Regions from separate parts of the Homo sapiens genome. Here all the other regions are linked to region 3. Evidence: promoter capture Hi-C in 16 types of primary human blood cells and fetal thymus (Javierre and others, 2016). All regions are on one chromosome and are shown on one strand. The core of a region is centred on a gene start or on the middle of the fragment in contact, and the rest is flanking DNA. Distances in the headings are between cores, read along the strand shown.

Region 1 (2,700 bases), core at 167-2,666, 370 kb before region 3:
GGATGACTTACTTGCTGTGTGTCTCTAGGAACTTGGAGGGTAGATGGACCTGACTTTAGGTTCTAGCTGGATGACTTACTTGCTGTGTGTCTCTAGGAACTTGGAGGATAGATGGACCTGACTTTAGGTTCTAGCTGGATGACTTACTTGCTGTGTGTCTCTAGGAAAGTTTCTCAGCTCTCAAACCTCTGTTTTCTCATCTGCAAGATGGGGATAATATTAACCAACTGGCTAGGTCATGAGGATTAAATCTGACAACTCTACCTAACCGCCTGGTGCAGCCAGGTGCCCACAAAATGGGCGGCCCTGCCAGACTTCTGAAATAGTTGTGCCTCCCACCACAAACTGTCTGCTATTGACTGAGAAGAGAAGCATGTTCTCTTCCAAACTCAAAGACCCTTATGTTCTGGAAGATCTCTGTAGCAATGAAGAGTGCCACCTTCAAGCTGCTGCTGGTCCAGGCCAAGGGTATATTGAGGTGGGTCCATCCCTCACCCAGAGTGTGTGCTGAGGCATATTGCAGCCCATATTTTGAGGGGTTTTTCCTGCTATTCATTTTGTGTTGCCGCCAGAGAAAACTAAACTGCAGCTCCTGGCTGTCGGGGAAGAGCTGTGCTTCTGCCAGGGCTAGTGTGCCTGGCACCAGCTCAGGCATGTACCAGAGCCGAATGCCGTTTGCAGGCAAATGTACACACAAAAAGATTCCAGCACACGCGTGCACCAGCCAACACAGAGTTGCCACGGCACGCAACAGCGGGCCATGCACGTGCCTGCTGACTCGGCTGTCATCTTCCGACTCTCTTCCGTGATCAGAAGACTGTCTCAGCCTCTGTCTGTCTCCACGTCTGTCTGTCTGTGGATCAGTGTGTTTTGAGTCTGACAGTCTACCTGGCTGGTTTCCTTTTTTCTTGCTCTGTCCCTCTCTCCTTGTGTTTCTACCCATCTCCCTATCTCTGCCACTCTCTGTCTCTGTTTTTCTTTCTCTTTCTCCCCTCCTTTGTATCACTCCCTAGGTCCGACATTGCCTCTTTCTCGATTTCCGATTCTCTCTGAGTCTCTCTCTCTCTCTCTCTTTCTCTAACTCTTCTGTCTCTGTCCTTCCCTGTCTTCTTTTTCCTGTGACACTCTCCTGGAAACGCATCAAAAACTGAAGTGGCCGGATTTCAAGTGACAAACAGCACTACACCCAGAATCCGCCCCCTCCCCAACACGGCTGCCTTCCTCCTCCACATCCCTGTCACGAAGAGAAGCCTATTGTGTCAGGCCCAGGGAGTTCGAGTTGAAGGGCCTGGGGGTCTGTGCTCTGACTGCTCTCAGCCACTTCCCCATTGGCTCCCAGCAGCCTGTGCTCAGCAAGGGCTGAGCGACAGGGGAGGCTCTCGTCCATAAAAGGGGGGAAGAGGCACCAGAACTGCCATTTGAAGGGGCTTTGGTGGTGTTCACAGCTGCCTCTTTGGCACCTCCTCCCAAGCCGGAGTCAAGGAGGCCCCTGAGCCTTGGACCAGCCACTGCCACCTCCGACCTGCTCGGCCAGAAGCTGCCCAGGGACAAAGCAGAGTGCAGGTAACATCCAGAGGGGGCACTGGAATTCTATCGCTTGGTTTTATTTGCTTATTCCTGGTCCTCTGGACCTAGAGATGGTGGGAGCTCGGGCTGGGGATTTTAGGTTTGGGTCTGATTATCTAGCAAAGGTGGTTACAGTTAGGAGGCTAGTTCACAAAAGCCAGACCAGTGAGAGACTGCTCTTTGGACTCTCCCTTTCTGCACAGTCCTGGCTTAAACAGGTGGTAAGCTCTCTCCCAAGAGGACCACCCTTTGGCTTTAGCTCCAGGGTCTCCTTCTTGCAGTCTCCCACACAGCAGTTCCCATGCCATTCCCAGGGTCTGGGGAAAATGGGACACCCTGGATGGGAGAAGTGAGAGGTTTCACTAATCAGGGTGATTTTAAAGGTCAATGAGTCTCACTGGACTTAGAGAACAATGGCTTGAGGACATTAATGAGATCCAAGGCTCTGGCATTTATCACATAACATGTACATCAATGTACGGCCAGGTTCGGCCTTTTCATTCTTTTCGGATTGTGTTTAATTGCTGACAGGGTGCTGGTTTGAGCGGCTTCTTTTGATGGAATTTGATACAGGTTGAAGTTTGGGGATGTTTTGTTGGAAGGGAATGGGAAAAGGGAGTGACAACAAGCCAGGAGGCCCAGGCTTAGCAGGCATTTTCTTGTCCATTTTACTTGGAAAGGACTTGTTGCTCTCCTATTAACTACAGCCAGAGGAGTCTAAGGCCAGGAGGAGGCTCAAAGGGAAAGCCATTTGCTCACTGGTCCAGAGACCCATATTCAGAAAAGTACCAAGTCTCAAAGTTTGATTCTAGCAAAAAGCTGATGAGTTTCAGGAAAAAAAAAAAAAAAAAAAAAGCCTGCTGACTACTCCAAGGTTGAAGAGTAAATTCTGCAACTGCTTACTTTTTCCTGGGTATCAAGAATCCCTCCAAGCTCTACAAACATTACTTAATTAAGTCTCCAGTCTTCCCAGGGGAAACAAGCTCTTTCGATTATTGGATCTGATTTCAATTCCCCTCCCACAGACTGAAAGTCTTCATTATCATCTTTCTTCCAAGGGTTGCTGAAATATACAAGGCTTGCCTTTCTAATTTGACAGGCATCCCAGTCGAGATCCATTGCAAAGCATTGCAG
Region 2 (2,700 bases), core at 185-2,684, 390 kb after region 3:
AAAGAATTAAAAACTTAGGTAAACTTCCATCAGTGTCTATTTGTACCGCAAGAATTCAATCATTATGCCCCAACTAAAGGTGACGCAATCCGCCAAACCATGTTCCCCTACGGGGCAGCTGGAGATTTTAATGCATATGGCTTGTACCTTGCGCTGGTTCCACTACTTTCCTTTTTAGTCTGTGTGTTTCGCTCTCTCGGAATAAATTCCTATTTATCTTTTTAAATGGCTCCCAGTGGTGTGAGGTACTTTTAAAATGTACTTTTTGGCCTGGCGCAGTGGCTCACGCCTGTAATCCCAGCACTGTGGGAGGCTGAGGCGGGCGGATCACTTTGATGCCAGGAACTGGAGACCAGCCTGGCCAACATGGTGAAACCCCGTCTCTACTAAAAGTACAAAAAGTAGCCAGGCACGGTGGCGGGCGTCTGTAATCCCAGCTACTTGGGAGGCTGAGGCAGGAGAATCGCTCGAACCCGGGAGACGGAGGCTGCAATGAGCCGCGATCGCCCTACTGCACTCCAGCCTGGGCGACAGAGGGCGACTCCGTCTCAAAAAAATCAAATGTACTTTTTAAGTGATGGACTTCTTAAAAGAGAAAACAAACAAAGAAAAAACCCAAACCCTGAGATTTGCTATTCCTGAGACATTGATTTTCCCGAGCACATATTACCTAACCTTTTTCCCCTCCCCACAAAATACGCACACAAACTCCCCCCGCACCCTCCCGCCCCACGTCCCGGAGGCTTTTTCAGTCTCCAGATTGAACTGACTTCGTGCAACGTGAAGCCACCGGGATGGGGCCACTCCGTGGAAACCGGCCCGCAAAGGGCAGGGTGGCGGCGGTGGCGGGGAGGGAGCGAAGGGAGGGAGGAAGGGGTCGGAAGGGGACCGGGCGGGGACCCTGGGAGAGGGGCGTGGGGAGAGAGGGCTGAGCCGGGCAGGGCGAGACCCTTCCGGGCGTGAGGGAGGGGAAAGCAAAGTGCAGGGGCTGGGAAGAGCTGACGGCCACGCTCAGGGGCAGGGGGACGCCAAAGGCTCCTCCACAGACGACTCCTCAGAGTTCCGGGCCGGGTGCTCACAGAGGGAAACTGAGGCCACAGCGCCCATTTTCTTCCGCGTGCGGGCGAGGAGACCCCGGGTCGCGCCTCCAGCCCCAGCTGGGCTGCGGGCGACGACCTTTCTTCCTCAGGCGGGACCCTCCGGGCTTGGCGCCGCGAGCTAACACGGCGTGAGGCGCCGGCGCCGGGTGCGTGTGGGAATGTGGGTGGCGGCGGCCCCCATCTCCCAGCCCGCCTACAGCACTCGGGGTCCGGCCGGCCTCTCAGGCTGCGCCCTACTTTCAAAGCCTCGTCTGAGGTGTGGCGTGCCAGAGCAGGGGCTGCGAGGAGTCGCCAAGTCAGCTTGGCCGGGTTCTTGGCGCCGCTGGGCGTCTGCAATGCGCGGCAGGCGCGGGGCGGGGAGGGGCGGGGCGTGGAGAAGGCGGGGCAGTGGGCGAGGGCGGGGCGTGCAGGGGACGGGGCGGAGCAGTGGGCGAGGGGCGGGGCGTGCAGGGGACGGGGCGGGGCAGTGGGCGAGGGCGGGGCGTGCAGGGGACGGGGCGGGGCGTGCAGGAGACGGGGCGGGGCAGTGGGCGATGGACGGGACTGACAGGGGATGGGGCGGGGCAGTGGGCGAGGGGCGGGGCGTGCAGGGGATGGAGAGGGACGGGCAGGACATGGGGAGGGGCGTGGAGGGGTATGGACGGGCGGGGCGGGGCAGTGGCTGAGGGACCGGGGGCAGGGGGCGGGGAAGGGCGGGCCAGCGACCGAGGGACTGGGCGCGGCGGCGGCGGCGGCGGCTGGGGGTACGGACAGAGTAGGGCAGTGCGCTAGAGTGGAGAGGACCGGGACTGAGAGGGACGAGGGCGCAGGGCGTTGGTGGGGACAGTGGACGGGGCAGGAGGGATAGAGTCAGACAGTGAGCAAGGCGCACCGGTCCTAGTGCGCAGTCTCCGGCTTTGTCCTGGCGCTCGGACCTGAGACACCTGAGCAGGGGCATGACAGGGATGGGGCCTGGGCCCCATAGTCCTGTTGTGAAAGGTGATCTTTCTGGCTGATCTCTGAACATCCCTATGATGCAGTCCAGTCTCTTCTCTTCCACTTATAGCTGGAGGTCACTGGAGAAATTCTTTAATCCCTTGAACCTCAGATTTTCTCATCTGTAAAGTGAAAATAATAAAAGTACTCGCGCCGTAGGATATTGTAAGAAATAAATAAAATGAACCATGAAAAGAGCCAAGCAATAATAAGTGCTCTACAAATATTAGCTATTATTATTATTGTTATTATTAAAAAGATTATTCACATTGACCTGCCCTTTGGGGACAGCAAATATTTTCCAGCCTGGAATATCACAGTTCTCAGTAGTCAAGGCCAAGTGCTAGAACCTGAGAAAAATCCTGCAAGAGCATCAGGATGCAAGGCTGGTTTCCTCTCTTGAGTTTGATAGTAAATACTAATAAATCTTGGAGCGGCAATGGCATCCAATATAAGGTTATTGATAAGGTTCAGGCTCCTGGCTGGGCATTTTCATGGGTTGTCTCATTGACTCTTCAAACAATCTCACAAAAGTAGTTACTGGTTTTCCCCTTTTGAATAAGGAAAGGGCTGGAGAAAAAATAGCAACCTGTCTAGGGTCACGTGGTTGGGAATTGTAGAGACA
Region 3 (2,700 bases), core at 58-2,557:
CAAACCTTCTGTATGGCTTATATTACTCTTACCATATCACTACAAGGTGCATGTTATAACTTCCATTTACATGTAATTAAGTTAAGGCTTAGAGAAGTCAAGTGTCTTGTTGAAAGTCACACAGCTGGAGATTGTAAGAAAAGGAATTCATCTACAGATTGACAAAAAGCAGGGTGAAGAGGATCCAGAGGGAGAAATTGATCTCAGAGTGTCAGAGGTAGACCAAGTACACCATAAAAGCTGGGTTCCAGAAGTCCGGGGAACATGGGAGAAGGCCACTGGTGGGAAACTCAGCATGCAGTAGAAATCCATTTAAAAGCAATATTTGAGTTCCCTCTCTTCACCTGGCACCATGAGTATCAATAATAACCTACTGAATCTCAGGGATGTATAGTCATTATCTCTTTTGATGTTCACTAAAACATGGCAGTGAGACTTATTATCCCAAGGTTAGAAGGCAAAACTGAACCTAGGCAGGCCCAGTAACTTCCCCAACTCCTTAGCACATCTTCTTAGGGTATTTATTCTCCCTCCCTCCTCAGTTCCCATCTGAAGACAGTGATGAATGGAATAGGTGTTCTATGTGCAGAGCAAAGAGTATTGAAATCGATGTGACTGCTCCAGGAATCTGCCCTCCATATTCTCCCCCATAATAAACATATCCCCTTTCCATAACCCATAATCCCCACCTCACCTCACAAAGCAGATCCTTATTACCCTAAGCCCACTTCCTCTCCTGGAAGAAGTCAGGAAATAATTCCTTCTGCTGGGTGCAGGCATATGAAAGTGCTAACGGCCACATGAGACTGAATTTGGGCTAAGTTTTGCCATTTATATTTATAAAAGTTCGGAATAGGGAACCATTTCAAGAGCAGACCTGTTCCTCTCCAACACTGAGCAGGTCCAGTGATCCCTCATCCTGCCCCAACTGAGTAGCACTTGGTTGAGGCTGTTGTAGAATGAGACCACAAGCCAACCACATCCTGAGGTCTTGAGATGGAAAGTTTAGGAAACATTTCATAACCACAGGTCCTTCCTGGCTTAAGAGCACCAAATGGCAAATCACCAAGAAGACATAAAGATGGGGTTAGGAGTCATGGAAGGAGTTAAGACCTCAGGTGGGAAGGAAGCATTATTTCTGCTAAGCCTGTCTGATTCTCCTGAAATGGGGCATGCATAACTGCTTGCATTGTAGCTGCTTGCTGTTCCTGATTTCTGTTTCACAATCCAGAAGCAGGTTACTGCTTCACTCCATCGCAGCCACTTCCTCTTGAACTAAGGGAGGCAGGGCTTGTCTTCTCTCCTCAGAGCAGAGTCTGCGATCTTCCCAGCACAGACGTTTGGACAGAGCAGGCTCCTAAGGTCTCCAGAATGCCCGTGCCAGCCTCCTGGCCCCACCTTCCTAGTCCTTTCCTGCTGATGACGCTACTGCTGGGGAGACTCACAGGTGAGCACTGCCTTCGGTTAAAATCTTTTTTCCTGCCCACTGAGCCATGGCCTGTCCCTGGACTTTCAGGGATTCCGGACAATGACAAGTGCTGCCAAGAAAGGCCAAGGATTAGGCTTTGACTGAGAGCAGAAAATCAGGGAGCTGAGCACTTTCTCTGTGGATCTGCAGCTGGCTACCAGAGGCATTGAACCACAGGACGATTCAACCACCACAACAACAATTACTTACATTTTGATAATATTTCAATTGAAAAAGCAGAGAAGAATCATTATCTAAATCCTCACCAGTCCTGAGGCCCTAGGGCCAAGTGACATGCCCAAGTCCACAGAGTAAGCTCAGAGACACCCTAACAGGGTTATGTGGCTCTAGGCCCAGCCCTCTCTCTTCACCAAACTGAGGATGTGAAGTCTGTAATAGTGCTCACTTGAGTAGGGCAGTGGTGTGGTGTATCCTGGGAGTGTTCAGCCACCATCCTCCCTAAGGGTGCTCCTCACTTTGTCCTCTGTTCCCCCATGCTCCTCCCTCCCCTGTGACCTGATTCTTACCACCCATTTCTCTGTGGCCTCTTCCTCTTTAAGAAGTTCCACATTTGCTGCTTACTGGGTCCTATATTCCTTTCCTAGGGCTTCCATAACAAAGAACTGCAGGCTGGGTGGCTGAAACTACAGATATTTACTTCCTTGCAGTTAAGGAGGCTGAAGTCCAAGATCAAGGTGTCAGCAGGGTTAGTTTCTACTGAAGTCTCTCTCCTTGGCTTATACAGGGCCATTTTCTCTCTGTGTCTTAAACACATGATCTTCCTCTGTGTGTGTCTGTGTCCTCATCTCCTCTTCTTATGAGAATATCAGTCTTGTTGTATTAAGGCCCACCCCAATGACCTCATTTAACTAAATTACTTCTTAAAGACCCTGTCTCCCAAACTGTAACGTTCAGAGGTGCTGGGGATTAGAGCTTCAACACATGCATTTTGTGGGACACATTCAGCCCATAACAGGTACTACAACCTCCTTTGGTTCTCTTAAATTTCCCATGGATAATTTCTTTCCCCTTCCCAAGACAGGCAGGATTGGAGGGCCTTTCCTGGTGCAGCCTGGGAGAACCCTGCTCACAGCTCCCAGACAAGTTACCTGTCCTGATCCCTTCTCAGGCCATGGAGCTGACCCCAGAACCACAGGGCTGGGCACAGCAGCCTCTCAATTCCCCACTGGGCCCTGCTGTGATGTCACCTCACAGGCCCTAGAGGGCAGGGG
Region 4 (2,700 bases), core at 35-2,534, 290 kb after region 3:
GTTATTATTCCTATTGTGTGTTTCCTGTGTGGGACTCTGGGCTGTAAGCTCTTCATTGGCAGGCACAAGATCTGACACCCAAGGCTAGTGCAACTCTGCCAGGTGGGTCATGGGAACTGTGACGTAGGCCTGCCTGGCCCAGGAAGCAGCCCAGATACTGACACACCCTGAGTGTGTACAGCGTCAATCCTCATGGGACTGCCCAGCACACGAGTCCCTCGTCCCTCCCCAGGCACCCAGTGCGACAGGCACCCTCACCCAACCAAACCCACCAGGATCTAAACTAAATTCTTCCTCCTTTTCTGTTCAAATTTATATAATTATTTTTGGAATAAGTAGTACATTTAAACTTTTCAAAATTTAAGACACCAAAAATGTGCCATAAAAAAAAAAATCTCCACCTCAGCACACAGCTCCTTAGGTCTGCTCCCAAGAGACAACCACTCTAAATTCCCATTAAAATAATCAAACTTAATTGCTTCCCCCTTACAAAAGTCATGAGCATTCAGAGCAAAAGCTAACTTAAAAAAAAAAAAACCACCTTGGAACACACAAAAGTACAAACTGAAAACCTCACCCTCAATGCTGCCATTCAGAGATACTCAGCATTTTAGCGTATGTCCTCCTAGACTGCTTTCAACGCACATCCACTTTACAAAAAATGAAAACAAAATGCAAGAAGAGATTCACAATATTGATTTTTCAACATCTCACTAGAATCTCAGAAATGTTTCCTCATACCTTCTTCCTTAAGTGACTTTAATAGCTCTGTGATCTTCCACAGACAATGATTTATTCAAGCAGACCACAGAGATGGGCATTTGGGATTTCTACATTTTCCTTACTAGAAGCAGCAGTGATGGATGGGCCCTGTGACTCCACTGTAACAAATTCCTAGAAGAAATGCTGGGTCACAGGATATGACCACTTTTTAATATCCTGGCCTAGACCCCTAGATACCTATCACAAACCGCCCTCTAGCCAACTGCCTCGATCAGCAGGACTAGGTGTCCAACCCAAATTTAGAGCTATTTAAGAAAAGGCCAAGAAGTCTTGGTTCATAACCGTCTGAACAGCAGCTGTGAGGGCCTTAATCCCACCTCCAAATCCAGACTAAGGCCAAAGGCCTCCTCTGGGCTGGCAACCTGCCTTGTTTACCCAGCCACAGCCCTCACCTGTGCCCATCCCAGTCCAAGGTGAGTCAGCTGAACAGGGGACAGGCACCACCCTTCCCAGATCAGGAAGCCAGCTGAGAGACAGGGCTACGTTTCAGGGAGGGAAACAGATTCAGCAGCGGCAGCAGCTGGAGAAGGTCGTGGAGCAGCACCTTGCCTGCAGGTAAGCGCTGGGGGCCCTGACCCAATCCTGGCTGGGATTGGGATGAGTGAGACCTGCTCTCACCCTGTCCCCTTCCCTCCCTGCCCCTTCCCTTCTGGGACTTCCCAGGCAGCTTCCTTTCGAAGTGCTTCACTCCAAGCAGTCAAGTGTGAAGTGGGGTTTCTTCTTCTGATCCCAGCCCTGGACCAAGTTTGATTAAGGGCTGAGTGATTTTCTTCACCCAGACATCATGAGGGCCCCCGATGCCTTCTGACTGCCCATGACTGTGCTCAAGGAGATGAGATCCACACTTTGCTCCTTGAAAGGCCAATTCCAGCCGAAACCAGAGGCTGCAGGCAGGCAAAAAGCCCATTTCTCCCAAGGAATCCACAGCTCAGGCCGACTTCTCTGGCCTGAGGCTGTTTCTATCAAAAAACCTTCCTGCCACAGCACTGAAACACCTGCTGGGGAACTGCGCCAGGGGCTTCACCTTTCTAAGAACTGGTTTCTTCATCTGGAGACTGAAAATAGCCCACAAAGTCAGGAGAATGGAAGGACATACTGGACACAGGAGCCAGTGCATGCCCTCCTCAGCAGGGTCTCAGAAAATGGGGCAGAAAACGAGCCTGGTATGGGCTGGGCGAGCACTGGACAGGCAGCTTCACGTACAGTGGCCCAAGCTCATGACAATTCCACCACCATCACTTCCCACCTGGGCTCCTGCTCCCACTCCTGCCCTGTAGCCCATCCTCCAAACATCAGCCAGAGGAGGCCTGTCAAAATAACCCTTGGACCTTGGCACTCTGCTGCTACAAATCCCCCAGTGGCTCCCATCTCACTACAGTAAATGCCAAAGTCCTCACCATGACCTCCAGGCCCTCCAGGATCTGGCCCCTCTCACTTCTCCAGCTTCCTCCCCACTACTCCTCCTTACTCCCTCTCTGCACAACTGGCTTCTCACTGGCAGATGTCCTCTAAACACAACACCAACTCCCACCTGAGAGGCTCTGCAATGGCCGTGCCCACCCCATTAGGCCTTTCCTCAAATGTCACCCCACCCAGCCAGCAAGGCTTCTGAACCTCCTGACATGACCCTCCGTCCTGCTCTTTCTCTCCAGTGCCTCCCACCATCTAACACAGCACACAGAGTCACAAAGCCTATTTATCCAGCTCTTCCCCCAAAGAAAGTACATTTGGGGACCAAGTCTTCTTTCCTTCACTGCTGATACCTAGAACAGTACTCAGACTTAGCAGGTGCTGAGTAAGTAAGCGCTGAAACAATGAATAAACAGCTAACTTTTACTGAATGCCTATTATGTGCTAGGTGCTGTGCTAAATGCTTTCCATATACACCTTAACTCTTTTTAAAAATCTTTCAGTCTC

What was found. The method cuts DNA at HindIII sites, captures the fragments that hold promoters and counts their contacts. A CHiCAGO score of 5 or more calls a contact.
Region 1: the fragment with the promoter of PDYN here is called in contact with the fragment with the promoter of SIRPB1 in region 3 in 2 of 17 cell types (neutrophils and monocytes); the score reaches 9.5 in neutrophils.
Region 2: the fragment with the promoter of RAD21L1 here is called in contact with the fragment with the promoter of SIRPB1 in region 3 in 5 of 17 cell types (activated CD4 T cells, total CD4 T cells, neutrophils and 2 more); the score reaches 7.0 in activated CD4 T cells.
Region 4: a contact is called between the fragment with the promoter of SDCBP2 here and the fragment with the promoter of SIRPB1 in region 3, in 13 of 17 cell types (neutrophils, activated CD4 T cells, naive CD8 T cells and 10 more). The highest score is 19.7, in neutrophils.

The regions. Positions count from the first base shown.
Region 1 is chr20:1,992,774-1,995,473 of GRCh38, reverse strand. PDYN (prodynorphin) reads left to right here and starts at 1,416. Exons shown (of 4, transcript NM_024411.5): 1 at 1,416-1,563. The region is part of intron 3 of PDYN-AS1 (PDYN antisense RNA 1); the gene reads right to left. RefSeq lists an enhancer at 1,046-1,876. The HindIII fragment of the contact is 28,770 bases long and covers 1-2,700 here.
Region 2 is chr20:1,224,778-1,227,477 of GRCh38, reverse strand. It overlaps RAD21L1 (RAD21 cohesin complex component like 1), which reads right to left and starts at 1,434. Exons shown (of 14, transcript NM_001384355.1): 1 at 1,338-1,434. RefSeq lists a silencer at 1,173-1,222. The HindIII fragment of the contact is 7,037 bases long and covers 1-2,700 here.
Region 3 is chr20:1,618,616-1,621,315 of GRCh38, reverse strand. It overlaps SIRPB1 (signal regulatory protein beta 1), which reads left to right and starts at 1,307. Exons shown (of 6, transcript NM_006065.5): 1 at 1,307-1,447. The coding sequence starts at 1,372. The HindIII fragment of the contact is 7,240 bases long and covers 1-2,700 here.
Region 4 is chr20:1,327,723-1,330,422 of GRCh38, reverse strand. SDCBP2 (syndecan binding protein 2) reads left to right here and starts at 1,284. Exons shown (of 9, transcript NM_080489.5): 1 at 1,284-1,338. The region is part of intron 2 of FKBP1A-SDCBP2 (FKBP1A-SDCBP2 readthrough (NMD candidate)); the gene reads left to right. All of the region lies in intron 1 of SDCBP2-AS1 (SDCBP2 antisense RNA 1), which reads right to left. The HindIII fragment of the contact is 15,880 bases long and covers 1-2,700 here.